2 separate regions of the Homo sapiens genome follow, and region 2 is linked to region 1. Evidence: promoter capture Hi-C in human tissues and cell types (Jung and others, 2019). All regions are on one chromosome and are shown on one strand. The core of a region is centred on a gene start or on the middle of the fragment in contact, and the rest is flanking DNA. Distances in the headings are between cores, read along the strand shown.

Region 1 (6,233 bases), core at 2,507-5,006:
GAGGCGGGGCAGTGTGTATATGGACCCCTGGACTTGCTACCTTCAGGGTTCCATACTCGTCCCTCCCCTCCTGGCTCTGCTGTCTGGAGTCTGGCAAGCGGGGTGTGTTCAGAAGGTCCTAGGCCTGTGTCGCATGTCCAGGCACTGGCCTGACCATCCGGCTCCCTGGCACCAAGTCCCAGGCAGGAGCAGCTGTTTTCCATCCCTTCCCAGACAAGCTCTATTTTTATCACAATGACCTTTAGAGAGGTCTCCCAGGCCAGCTCAAGGTGTCCCACTATCCCCTCTGGAGGGAAGAGGCAGGAAAATTCTCCCCGGGTCCCTGTCATGCTACTTTCTCCATCCCAGTTCAGACTGTCCAGGACATCTTATCTGCAGCCATAAGAGAATTATAAGGCAGTGATTTCCCTTAGGCCCAGGACTTGGGCCTCCAGCTCATCTGTTCCTTCTGGGCCCATTCATGGCAGGTTCTGGGCTCAAAGCTGAACTGGGGAGAGAAGAGATACAGAGCTACCATGTGACTTTACCTGATTGCCCTCAGTTTGGGGTTGCTTATTGGGAAAGAGAGAGACAAAGAGTTACTTGTTACGGGAAATATGAAAAGCATGGCCAGGATGCATAGAGGAGATTCTAGCAGGGGACAGGATTGGCTCAGATGACCCCTGAGGGCTCTTCCAGTCTTGAAATGCATTCCATGATATTAGGAAGTCGGGGGTGGGTGGTGGTGGTGGGCTAGTTGGGCTTGAATTTAGGGGCCGATGAGCTTGGGTACGTGAGCAGGGTGTTAAGTTAGGGTCTGCCTGTATTTCTGGTCCCCTTGGAAATGTCCCCTTCTTCAGTGTCAGACCTCAGTCCCAGTGTCCATATCGTGCCCAGAAAAGTAGACATTATCCTGCCCCATCCCTTCCCCAGTGCACTCTGACCTAGCTAGTGCCTGGTGCCCAGTGACCTGGGGGAGCCTGGCTGCAGGCCCTCACTGGTTCCCTAAACCTTGGTGGCTGTGATTCAGGTCCCCAGGGGGGACTCAGGGAGGAATATGGCTGAGTTCTGTAGTTTCCAGAGTTGGCTGGTAGAGCCTTCTAGAGGTTCAGAATATTAGCTTCAGGATCAGCTGGGGGTATGGAATTGGCTGAGGATCAAACGTATGTAGGTGAAAGGATACCAGGATGTTGCTAAAGGTGAGGGACAGTTTGGGTTTGGGACTTACCGGGGTGATGTTAGATCTGGAACCCCCAAGTGAGGCTGGAGGGAGTTAAGGTCAGTATGGAAGATAGGGTTGGGACAGGGTGCTTTGGAATGAAAGAGTGACCTTAGAGGGCTCCTTGGGCCTCAGGAATGCTCCTGCTGCTGTGAAGATGAGAAGGTGCTCTTACTCAGTTAATGATGAGTGACTATATTTACCAAAGCCCCTACCTGCTGCTGGGTCCCTTGTAGCACAGGAGACTGGGGCTAAGGGCCCCTCCCAGGGAAGGGACACCATCAGGCCTCTGGCTGAGGCAGTAGCATAGAGGATCCATTTCTACCTGCATTTCCCAGAGGACTAGCAGGAGGCAGCCTTGAGAAACCGGCAGTTCCCAAGCCAGCGCCTGGCTGTTCTCTCATTGTCACTGCCCTCTCCCCAACCTCTCCTCTAACCCACTAGAGATTGCCTGTGTCCTGCCTCTTGCCTCTTGTAGAATGCAGCTCTGGCCCTCAATAAATGCTTCCTGCATTCTTCTGCCTCCTGTGTCATTTTCAGCTGTGTCTGATGTCCTTCCCTTCTCCCCAAGCATGGAGCAGTCCATGGGACTCTGGGTGGCTGGGAATATTTGAGACATATGGGATGGGAGCTTGGGAAGAAGCAGCCATGGGGAGAGATGGGAACAACGGACAACTTGAGGCCATAGAAGTACCTGGACTGCAGTCCTGGTCCTGTCATGGACGAGCGGGGTGACCCTGGGTGAGCCCACTCCTTCTCTAGGCCTCAGCTTCCCCATCCGTATAATGGGGAGAGTGGGTCTAGGTAATGTCTCAGGGTGGTATTGTCCAGGCCCTGACCACAGAGCACTATCACCAGAGTGGGCAGGGCCAAGCTGGGTCAGGGCTCTGTGCTCTGAGGCTGTTTCCTCATGGCAGGTGGGGGTGCCAGGGCAGGAAAGGCGCCACTGTAAGAGGTCCCGTCTGAGCCAGGCAGCCCCAGTGAGGCAAGGACTCGGGCCATGAGGCATCCTCTCCTGGCAGGAGTGTCCTTTGGCCAGAGAAGGGGATTGTGATCCTGCTCCCAGGTGAGGCTAAGCTTGCCCTGGGAACACACCTCACTCTTCCTCTCTAGAAGCTCAGGCCCACCGAGGGCCAGGAAGCTAAGGTCAGGGTGGTGGACAGCAGAATCTAGGCTTCTGATTTGAGAGGTGTCAGAAATACACCCCAGGATAGTCTGCCAGCACACAGACACCGGTGGTCCCCACCCTGCACCCAGCCCATCCTTGCTAGGCCCACCCTTCCCCAGGAGTGTGTGCCTTGGACCCAATCTTTATCTTCGGCTGGGGCCTCACTGCAGCACAGTGTCCCATTGCCTACTGGTGATCTCATCCCAGTCCCCCGACACCTCAAAGTTCATCCAAAACTGACCTCAGTGTCTGCCCCCACCCCTCCTGCTCCTCCCCTTCCAGTCACCCAAGCATGAAACAGGGGAGTGGGACTCCCTTTCCTCACCTTCCACATCCAGTTCCTCACCAAGACCCAAGGGTTCTTCAAATAACCCTCAACTCCCTCTCCTCTCCATCTCCTTGTCACTGCCCTGATCCAGCCACCCCTGGTGACAGTCAGGTCCTCCTGCCTCCAGTCTGGCCCCCTCCAACCCATTTCCCACATGGCAGCAAAGATATCTTTGGAAAATGCCAATCCGATCACTCCATTTCACCACTTTAATCTTGTCAGCAACCCTTTATAAACACAGTTTCCTTTTGAAAGCCTGCTGGGATCTGGCCGCTGCCCCCACTGTCTGGGCTAATCTCTCAGCACTGCCCCCAGCTCCGGCTCTACTTGCCAACCCCCTACCCATCTTTGTAGGTGACATGTCCACTGCCTGCCATGCCCCTTCTCTGCCCAGTGAACTCCCACTCATCCTTCAAGGCCCAACTCCAGTGTGTCCTCCTCTGGGAAGCCTTCTCACCCCCCACCCCAGGCTGAGCTGGTAACTCCCTCCCCTGGGCTCTCCCAGAGCCTTCCCCAAAGCTTGTTTACCCGTCTGAATCTGACCTGGCTGAGCTCCTTGAAGACAGAGCCCTGCCTTATTTATTTTCAGTCCTTAGAGAGAGGCTCAGGGAATGTGAGAAGGTAGAGGGAGGGAGGGAGGGAGGGAGGAGGGGAGAAAAGAAGGCAGGCAGGAAGGAGGCAGAAGAAGAAAGGCAGGAGAGAAGAAAGGAAGGAAGAAAAGGATAAGTCAAGCAAAGATATTGAGGAGCAATTCATTCATCCATCTATCTATCCATCCATTCCTTCCTTCGACAAATATCTGCTGAGTTCCTATCAAGCACCATTCTTGGCACTAAGGATATAACAGTTAACAAGCGGAAGCTACCAGCAGCTGACCCTCAACATTTCCAGGTGACTTTGGTGTGTGCATATGTGAGTGTGTGTGTACACGTGGGTGCAAGCCCTCTGTCTGCACAGGCCTGTTGCCAGGGCACCTGTCTTCCCTAGGGTCTGGTGCTTTTAGCCTCTGGCTCCAGCTCCTATTGCAGCCCGAAATAAGGCTGTGACCCATGGCAAGGCAGGAATGATTCTCATCAGCTGAAGCCAGAGCTGGCTGCAGGGGACACCCTGCTCGCTGCCTACTGACTGCTGACCGCTGACTGCCTACAGGGACGCCACGCAACTCTCAGCTTCCCGACAGAGGTGTTAATCTTGAGGGTCTAAGATTCCCTCCTGCCTATTGTGGTCCCATCCTCTCAGGTACCAGCATCCTAGGGGAGCTTGGGGAACTCAGGGGAGTGGGCAGAGGAGGTGAGCCAATCCCCAGAGCTCCTTCCCCCGGAGAGGAAGGGCCCTGCAGTGGATCTAGGGAGTTTGGGGCCCCATGCAAGCCTCGATCCTGGTTTGGGAGGAGAGGAACTCTAAGCTCTAGGTTACCCTGCATTAAATGGGGAGGGTGTGGCTAGGATTAAAGGTGGGGAATAGGTAATGGCTCTGCTCAGGACTTTGGGATTTTTAGGCAGTAGAGGGAAGCAGCTTCTCTGTAAAATGAGAGACCCTTCCCAGCATCTGTGAATTTCTGTAAAGGGAGTGTTTATCAAGAAACAGATCTGTGGACTGTGGAATCCTAAACGGTTGTGATCGAGGCATTCTCAATCATCCCATGACCCTCACCCCAAATGCATGTAGACACACTCATGTTTACGTATAGTTTTAGGGGGTTTGTGAACACCCTAAAGCCCATCCATGGATCTCTGTGATTTAGCCTAACCCCCTACTGTTACAGATGGGGGAACTGAGGTGCAGAGCTGGAAAGCTACTTGTTCGCAGTTACAGAGAAAGCCAGGGACACCCACTAGACTCCAGTTGCACAATGCAGTGCCCACTGACTCCCAGGGCCCCTTGTCGGTGTTGGGGATACAGATGAAGGCAGATTGTTTTCTAAAGGAAGGAGTATAGGAAAACCTGGAGGCAAAGGAGAAGGGTACCCAGGTGGGTGGTCAGTCGAGGAGCTCAAGGGCTCTGCCTCTTCTCCAGAGGGCAAGTTAAGGTACCTGGGCAAGTTAAGGGCTCTGGACCTCATTTTATTTGCAAATCTCTTCCAAGATTCTTTGAAAGTGCCATGAGATACAAATAGGGGGATGGAACAGGAGGAAGAGAAGGGACGAGGGAGAAGAGAACACCACGGAAGTTAGCCCAGTAGCGGGGAGATGGGGAGGACGGGGGATGGTTCTCTCTGCTTGGTTGGACCAGCCTGTGCCCTCAAGCGTCAGGGCCAAGTGCCAAGGATGAAAGGGGCTCACCAGCCTTGCAGACCCCAGTGTAACCCCAACCTAGTCCATCCTCCCCCTTCCCCTAACTTAAACCTCCAACTTCTTTCAGCCTTGGACTAGGACTCTCCTGGGTCAACCGATGACAGTAGTGCCTGAGACCTTTGCCTGCCCCACCCGGATGCCCCTGGCACCTACTCTCCCTCTGATCAGGATGCCAGAGCTGGGAAAAGGCCCTAGAAACCACCCCTGAAGAGACAGTGCTTCCCTAGCAACATGAAAATAGATTCGTGCAAACTTGAGCACCTCCCTCTCGTTCCCTGGGCCTCAGTCTCCTCTGCACGGAGACCCTGAAGTCCCTTCCAGCTCAGACATCCCTTGCTTGTGATTTGGGGCTGGCCTAAAGCTGTTCAGGACTGGGGCAGGGTGAACCAGAGACTGGAAGGAGGTCTGGGGAGAAATGGAGGCAGCCTGGTCCATTTATGGGGGTCTCTCCTCCACAGGATGATCCCCAAGGAGCAGAAGGGGCCAGTGATGGCTGCCATGGGGGACCTCACTGAACCAGGTAAGGTGGTTCTAGCCTCATGCCTTCCTCAGACTCCATCATTTCCTTGCTCCCAGGCTGCACTCACTCTGGCCTGCTGGCCCCAGGCCTGGGCAGACAGGTGTGAGCTCCAGGCCAGCTCTGAGGGAGTGCCTGTAGAATTTGCTGCCTAGGCTGGGAAGCTTCCCTGAGGCACTGGGAGGGGTCTTGCCCATCTGTCCACAGACCCAGGAGCTGAGGCTGAGTGTCCCAGGCTGGGCCTTGGCTCTAAAATGACCCTGGCCCTGGCTTCATCTAAGGCCTCACCTCAGCCCCAAATTAAGCTCTGAAGACTCTGGTCCCAACTCCAGCCCTACCTGTGGCTGCAAGCTCTGCACACACTTGCCTTTGCCTATTACTCCTGTGGGTCTCACCGAGGCCTCTGGGTGGCCCAGGATGGCTGGGCCCCATGGCTAAGAGAGGGGAGTGGAGAGAGTGGAGTAGGGTGGGAAGACAGGGGAGTCGAGAGAGTGGAGCAGGGTGGGAAGAGCAGGCTGCCCATTTGAATACAAAACTTTCTACTTAAAGCTGATTCATCAAATGAGTAAATCATTTTTATCATTTCATTAAAAAAGTTTAAATTCATTTTTATCAATTTTAGAAGACCTCTTGAGGAACTCTTGATACAATTTTGGAATCTGTTTATTTGGTCTACTTTAGAGGATTTCAGGTATTTTAAAAATTAATTTAGGGGCTGGACACAGAGG
Region 2 (6,233 bases), core at 1,999-4,498, 320 kb before region 1:
CCTTTGTGGTGTGTGTGTGTGTGTGTGTGTGTGTGTCTGTGTGTGTGTGTGTGTTAATGGCTTTATTAAGGTGTAGTTGATAAACAAAAACTGCACATATTTAATATATATAGGACCCAGGACTTTCAAGCAAACAGCTCTAGGCCCATAAACATATGAAAAGATATTCAACCTTATTAGAATTCAGAGAGATGCAAATTGAGACCATTATGACATCCTTTTACACCCACTGGATTGGCAAGTAATTAAAGAGCCTGACAATACCAAGTGTTGGCAAGGATGTGGATCAACCAGATGCTTATACACTGCTGGGAGGAATGTCTATGGGAATAAGTGACTTGGAAAATCATTCCAGTATGATCTTGTAAAGCTGATCGATCACTTTCCCTGCAGTCTCACAGTTCCCCTCCTAGGCAACATATACTCCCAAGCACATACACACCCATGCTTACCATTGTGAACACACTGGTTGATAGAATCTTGAAATTCTTCCATGCCAGTTGGTAAATAGCTACTATTCCAAGTCTCCCCCACCCATTTACCTGTGACCACCTGTGATCCAGCTGCCCCCAGCCTTTCCTTTAGGTATCCACCCAAACTCCCCATGATCCAACAACTAAAATGTTAATACCCCATAGACTACCCCCAGGACCACATTCCAGCTCCACAGCGTCCATTCTGATTGCTCAGTGCCCTCACCTCTCCAGTTGTTTATTTTTATTGTGTCCACCCTAGAGAAACCCTTGCTCACATGCACCAAGAGAAATGCACAAGGTTATTCGTAGAATCAATCTTCTTAATAGAAACAACAATAACCACAACAACCACAATAACCAAACAACTATAAATAACCTCAGGTCCATGCAAGGGAGATGCCCAACCAAGCCACTTCCTTCTGTCAGCTCAAAGAAGCTCCTGCAGGGTTCAGGGCAGACAGAAGAGATGGGCTCTTTTTTTTTTTTTTTTTGAGACAGAGTCTTGCTGTGCTGCCCAGGCCAGAGTGCAATGGTGAGGTCTCGGCTCACTGCAGCCTCCACCTCCCGGGTTCAAGCGATTCTCCTGCCTCAGCCTCCCGAGTAGCTGGGACTACAGGTCTGGCTACAGGACTACAGGACTACACATCTGGCTAATTTTTGTATTTTTAGTAGAGACAGGGTTTCACTATGTTGGCCAGGCTGATCTTGAACTCCTGACCTCATGACCTGAGATAGGCTCATTTTCTAGTGGGATCCAAGCCCAGGCAGATGGTCATGCTCACTCTGTGCCTTAGGGTTGTATCTTATTTACCATTCAAGGTAGCAGTTAGCATTCTTAATCCCATTTTACAGGTAAGGAAACTGAAACGTAGAGAAGTACTATAACTTGCCCAACGTCATACATCGTAGAGCTGGGGTTTGAGCCCATGTCTTTGTGATTTCAAAGTCCAAACTCTTCTTCACTAGTAGGGGCACATTACCATAGGTGGGAGTTCTTGGCATGTGGGCCTTTTTCACTTGGGATCCCCAGCAACTGGCACAGAGCCTGACACAGAGGAAGACGCTCAGTGAACAGACTGATACAGCAAAGCAGTCAGTCGATCCACTGTGACTGACTTCAGCCTCTGCACTGAGCCTCACTTCCTACTTACCTCCCTGATTCCTGAAATCCAGGCCAGAAGACCATTTTGCCCTGAGATCCCTTGTTTCCTGATCTCCTGATTTTGAACCTGGACTTGCAAGATACATCTTCTCTGAGACCACTCCAAATATTTTAACACAAAGACTGTGACTCTAGTCATTCATTCCTTCCTTCCATTATTCCTATGTTTTGTTTTTTGTTTTGTTTTGTTTTGTTTTTGAGATGGAGTCTCGCTCTGTCCCCCCAGGTTGGAGTGCAACAGCACGATCTTGGCTCATTGCAACCTTCACCTCCCGGGTTCAAGCAATTCTCCTACCTCAGCCTCCCGAGTAGCTGGGATTACAGGCATGTGCCACCACACCCGGCTAATTTTTTGTATTTTTAGTAGAGATTGGGTTTCACCATGTTGCCCAGGCTTGTCTCGAACTCCTGAGCTCAGGCAATCCACTCCCCTCGGCTTCCCAAAGTGTTAAGATTACAGGCATGAGCCACGGCATCCGGCCTTATTCTTTAAATATTGATTGCACACCCATATGTGCAAGGCACCGAGCTGAGCTTGGGAGAAACAGCAGTAGCCACACAAAGTCCCTGCTTTCTGGAACTCTCAGCCTGCCCTGGGTGCCCCCAACCTTGAAACACATTCCTCAGAGCAGCTGGGTGCTGACATGAAGCCCACACGCCTGGCTCAGTGGCCCTTCAACCCAGCAAAACAGCAAATCCAGGAGGCTGACACTGAAGTACCTGGGTGTTTTGTCCCCACATGCCTCCTGTCTGACCTTCTGCCTGAGGAAAGAGTTTGTTTTTGCTCCAGGAAGAGAGGTATAGCTGTGGGAAATTCAATGTGCTTATTTATTTGTTTGGCTTCCCTAATTTAATCTTCTCAACAAATAAAAATAAAGATAGCATGTTTGCCCAAATAGCAAAAGGCCCCACCTGAGATGTTATTACGCTTTCCAGAATTAGTCACACCATTACTGCTAGTGGCCAACGTGCCCAGGGCAACTGAGGGTTAGAAGCCCAAGCTCCCAGCCCAGCTCTGCCGATGATGGTTTGATAACAGAGATGTCATTTCACCTCTTCAAGTCTTGTTTCCCTCCTTTATAAGATGAAATGCTTGATGCTTACAAAGTCAGAACTTTCACATTCACTACCTCATTTTGTGTTCTTAATATGCTGTGAAGAAGGCATTTTGATCCTATTTTACTGGTGGAAAAATTAAAGCAGAAGAGACAGAAGAGTCCAAGTGACCCAATTGATAAGAAGAGGCAGAGACAGGAGCCGAATCCAAGCTTCCAACTCTTGCCTGGGGTCCTTTTGTCCTCACCAGGGTTTCTCATACTTGAGTAACATACAGATGCCTCCAAAATAATTCTCACTGGCCCAAGAATATGCCCAGAAATCTTAGGAGTCTGCAGACACAAATTTAAGAACCTTCTAAGTTTGATTTACAGCAAAATCTTGGTTTATTCAGGTGGCTGTAAAGTCATTGATTACCCCAGCGCCAGTGTGATCACAAAGGCAAACATCAACACAGCATTGAAATCACTTGTCCATACAATGTTATAAGGCAGATGTTCAAATTATCGAAAAATATAATTTTTTTTTTGAGACAGAGTTTCGTTCTCATTGCTCAGGCTGGAGTGCAATGGTGCAATCTCAGCTCACTGCAACCTCCACCTCCCGGGTTAGAGCGATTCTCCTGCCTCAGCCTCCCAAGTAGCTGGGATTACAGGCGCTGCCACCACACCCAGCTAATTTTGTATTTTTAGTAGAGGCAGGTTTCACCACGTTGGTCAGGCTAGTCTCGGACTCCTGACCTCAGGTGATCCACCCGCCTCAGCCTTCCAAAGTGCTGGGATTGTAGGCGTGAGCCACTGTGCCTGGCCTAAAATTTTTCTTTTTTTTTTTTTTTTAGAGATCGAGTCTCACTCTGTCTCCCAGGCTGGAGTGCAGTGGTGCAATCTCAGCTTACTGCAACCTCCACCTCCTGGGTTCGAGCAATTCTCCTGCCTCAGCCTCCCGAGTAGCTGGGATTGCAGATGCGCACTGCCACACCAGCTAATTTTTTGTATTTTAGTAGAGACAGGGTTTCACCGGGTTGCCCAGGCTGGTCTCAAACTCCTGAGCTCAGGCAATCCACCCGCCTTGGCCTCCCAAGGTGCTAGGATTACAGGCATGAGCCACTGCATCCGGTTAAAATCTTTAATTATTTTAGATTATCATTGAAATGAAAATTAAAAATCAAACTCTTGAAGAACTTGTCGGAACCGTCCCCTTTCCCATTCTGAGATTCTGTCAGGCTGCCTCCACATTGCCTGAAAACCCGTCCCTGTTCTAACATTCTTTGAGTTTCCCTGGTAACCATCTGCTGGTGGAAATGACAATTAAGCTGTTCAGCTGCCTGGTTCACTTAGTTCCCCCATTATGGCTCTGTGCCAGGGTCAAGAAGGCCTGAATTTACCCACCTGCAGCAATGGGCCAAAGGAGAGAGATCCTCTCAGGGACAGGATGAGTCTCAAAACACAGAGTAGAAAAAGCCTGCACCTGGACGGACATTGTTCATCCTTCCACCACCTCATCCACTAATGCATCCGTTCTGCATTCACTCTCGCCTGTTACATTCCAGGTCCACATTTGTGGGAGAGAAGATGGGGTGAAAAAATAAGCAAGGTTTACCTTGGTGTATATAATGTACTACTATCAATATTGTGTGCCTCTGTGTGTGTGTGTGTGTGTGTGTGTGTGTGTGTGTGTGTGTGTGTATGCAGTCATATCTAAGCCCTGGTAATATTGCATCCTCCTGGGAAGAGAACCGAGAAGCTGGGGAACAGAGGATGGGAGCCCAGGAGATTTACTTTTCTCGGTACCCTTTGCATACCTTTACACGTTTGCATCATGTGTATACATCATCTTCTCCAAAAACAGGTTTCAGTTTTTGAACTACATTCTCCACTGGAATCCAGTGCTCTGGCCGTGTGAGCAGGCTGACCTTTCAGAGGTGGTGATGGTGGGGTGACTCGCGGTCAGTAAGTGGGACGAAGAAGGAGGCATCATCCAGACCTATTTGCCATGGGTTCTATGGCCTTGTCCAAGAGGCTGCTGGACCCAGAGGCCTCTGCCCACCTCCCCTCCAAACCTGTTCCTGTGTATGCTGTGCCCAGGATTGAACTGCTCAGAGGTGATGGGGTAGCCCCCTGCCATGGCCTCAAGAGACCTGTTTGTGTGGGCTGGCACGTGGTCACATATGAGTGAGAGTCACCAGGCACGTGTGTCCTTTTCTTTCCCCAGACAAATATTCTCTTGGAGCCCTCAGATGCCCTCCCCACCCTGCTGCGAGGGTGACTGGGCAGCTTTGAGTGGCCATGGTGTATGGAGGCCATGGGATACATCCTCCGTCCTCTTCCGGTTTTCTTGAGACATCACGTATGCCACTTCCATAAGTTCCTGCTTCCAGAGTCACCAAGCATGGCCCCAGGAACAGCTCAGAACCCAGGGCCATGGGTGGGAGGGAAAAGGAGGGAGACTGGTGTCTCATGTCTCGCATGTCCCAGCTCCTCCAGAGACTCAGCTCCACTTGCAGATGCAAAGTTAGATTTGAAGAGACTGTAATCTTGGGGCCAGGCAAGATTAGGACATTCACACTGGATGGCTCTCAGGGAGCAGCGTCTTCTGAGGCTTTTCTCAGTGAGTCCTCCCTCTCCCTGGGGGATTTCAAGACTTCCCACTGTGCCTTGACCTGCTTCCTCCAGCCTCATAACACCCCTGAGAGCTCAAGACAGTTCTCTTCCCTATTTTACAAGTAAAGAAGCTGAAACCCAAAGGTAAAATGACTTATCCCCAAGTTCACCAGCCTATAAATCACTCAGCCTGAATTTCAACCCAAGTGGGCCCTGCTCTAAAGCCCGTGCTAACATTCCACCTGAGGTCAAGGCCTCCTGAGGAGGGTGCCACACCAAGAAATGGCCTCAGCTTGCTGCGGATTGTAGAACCCCAAACAATAGAGGAAGACATTGACGCAGTTCATTATATTCAAACCTAAAGCCTTTGTGCATCGCAAGACTGCATACATAAAGTGAAAAAATAATTCACAGACTAACAAAAGACAGTCGCAGCAGACCACAAGATTAGAGCTCCTGCAAATCAATAAGAAAGACACGAACAGCACCATGGAAACACGGACAGGGGGTACAAGAGGCGATCCACAGAAGAGGAAATCCAAACCACTAGCACAATTATGAAAACGGTTTAACTCCACTCTTCAGAGAAATAGAACTTAAAAACAAGAACGAGAGACATTTGGCCCCCATCAGAGTGATAAACATCCCAAAGTCTGACTATTGCCAGGTCAAGTCTGGATGTGGAGCCACAGAAACTGACCCTTTCAGATACAGTCAGGCAATGGCAGGGAGCCCCAAGATACTCACACACCCGGCCATTCTTCCCCAGGCACATGCAAGACACGCATGAGGATGGTCACGGCAGTGCGGTTTTTATTATGGAAAATTGGACATCATTCAAATGCCCATCAACAGGAGAATGGATTGATAAACTGTAGTACATGCCCCTACAATGAAATTGATTGAATAGTGGATATGTGTATACTGGTGCTCTGCACA

What was found. The method cuts DNA at HindIII sites, captures the fragments that hold promoters and counts their contacts. A contact is called where the count stands out against the background at its distance.
Region 2: a contact is called between a fragment that was not itself captured here and the fragment with the promoter of MYOZ3 in region 1, in 1 of the 25 tissues and cell types used here (spleen).

What each region holds. Positions count from the first base shown.
Region 1 is chr5:150,657,495-150,663,727 of GRCh38, forward strand. It overlaps MYOZ3 (myozenin 3), which reads left to right and starts at 3,757. Exons shown (of 7, transcript NM_001122853.3): 1 at 3,757-3,933; 2 at 5,447-5,508. The coding sequence starts at 5,448. It overlaps SYNPO (synaptopodin), which reads left to right. Exons shown (of 3, transcript NM_007286.6): 3 at 1-1,713. The HindIII fragment of the contact is 3,368 bases long and covers 2,745-6,112 here.
Region 2 is chr5:150,341,916-150,348,148 of GRCh38, forward strand. No RefSeq gene overlaps it. Among named protein-coding and RNA genes, the nearest start is that of TCOF1, 13 kb to the right of the region's middle. The HindIII fragment of the contact is 4,296 bases long and covers 1,101-5,396 here.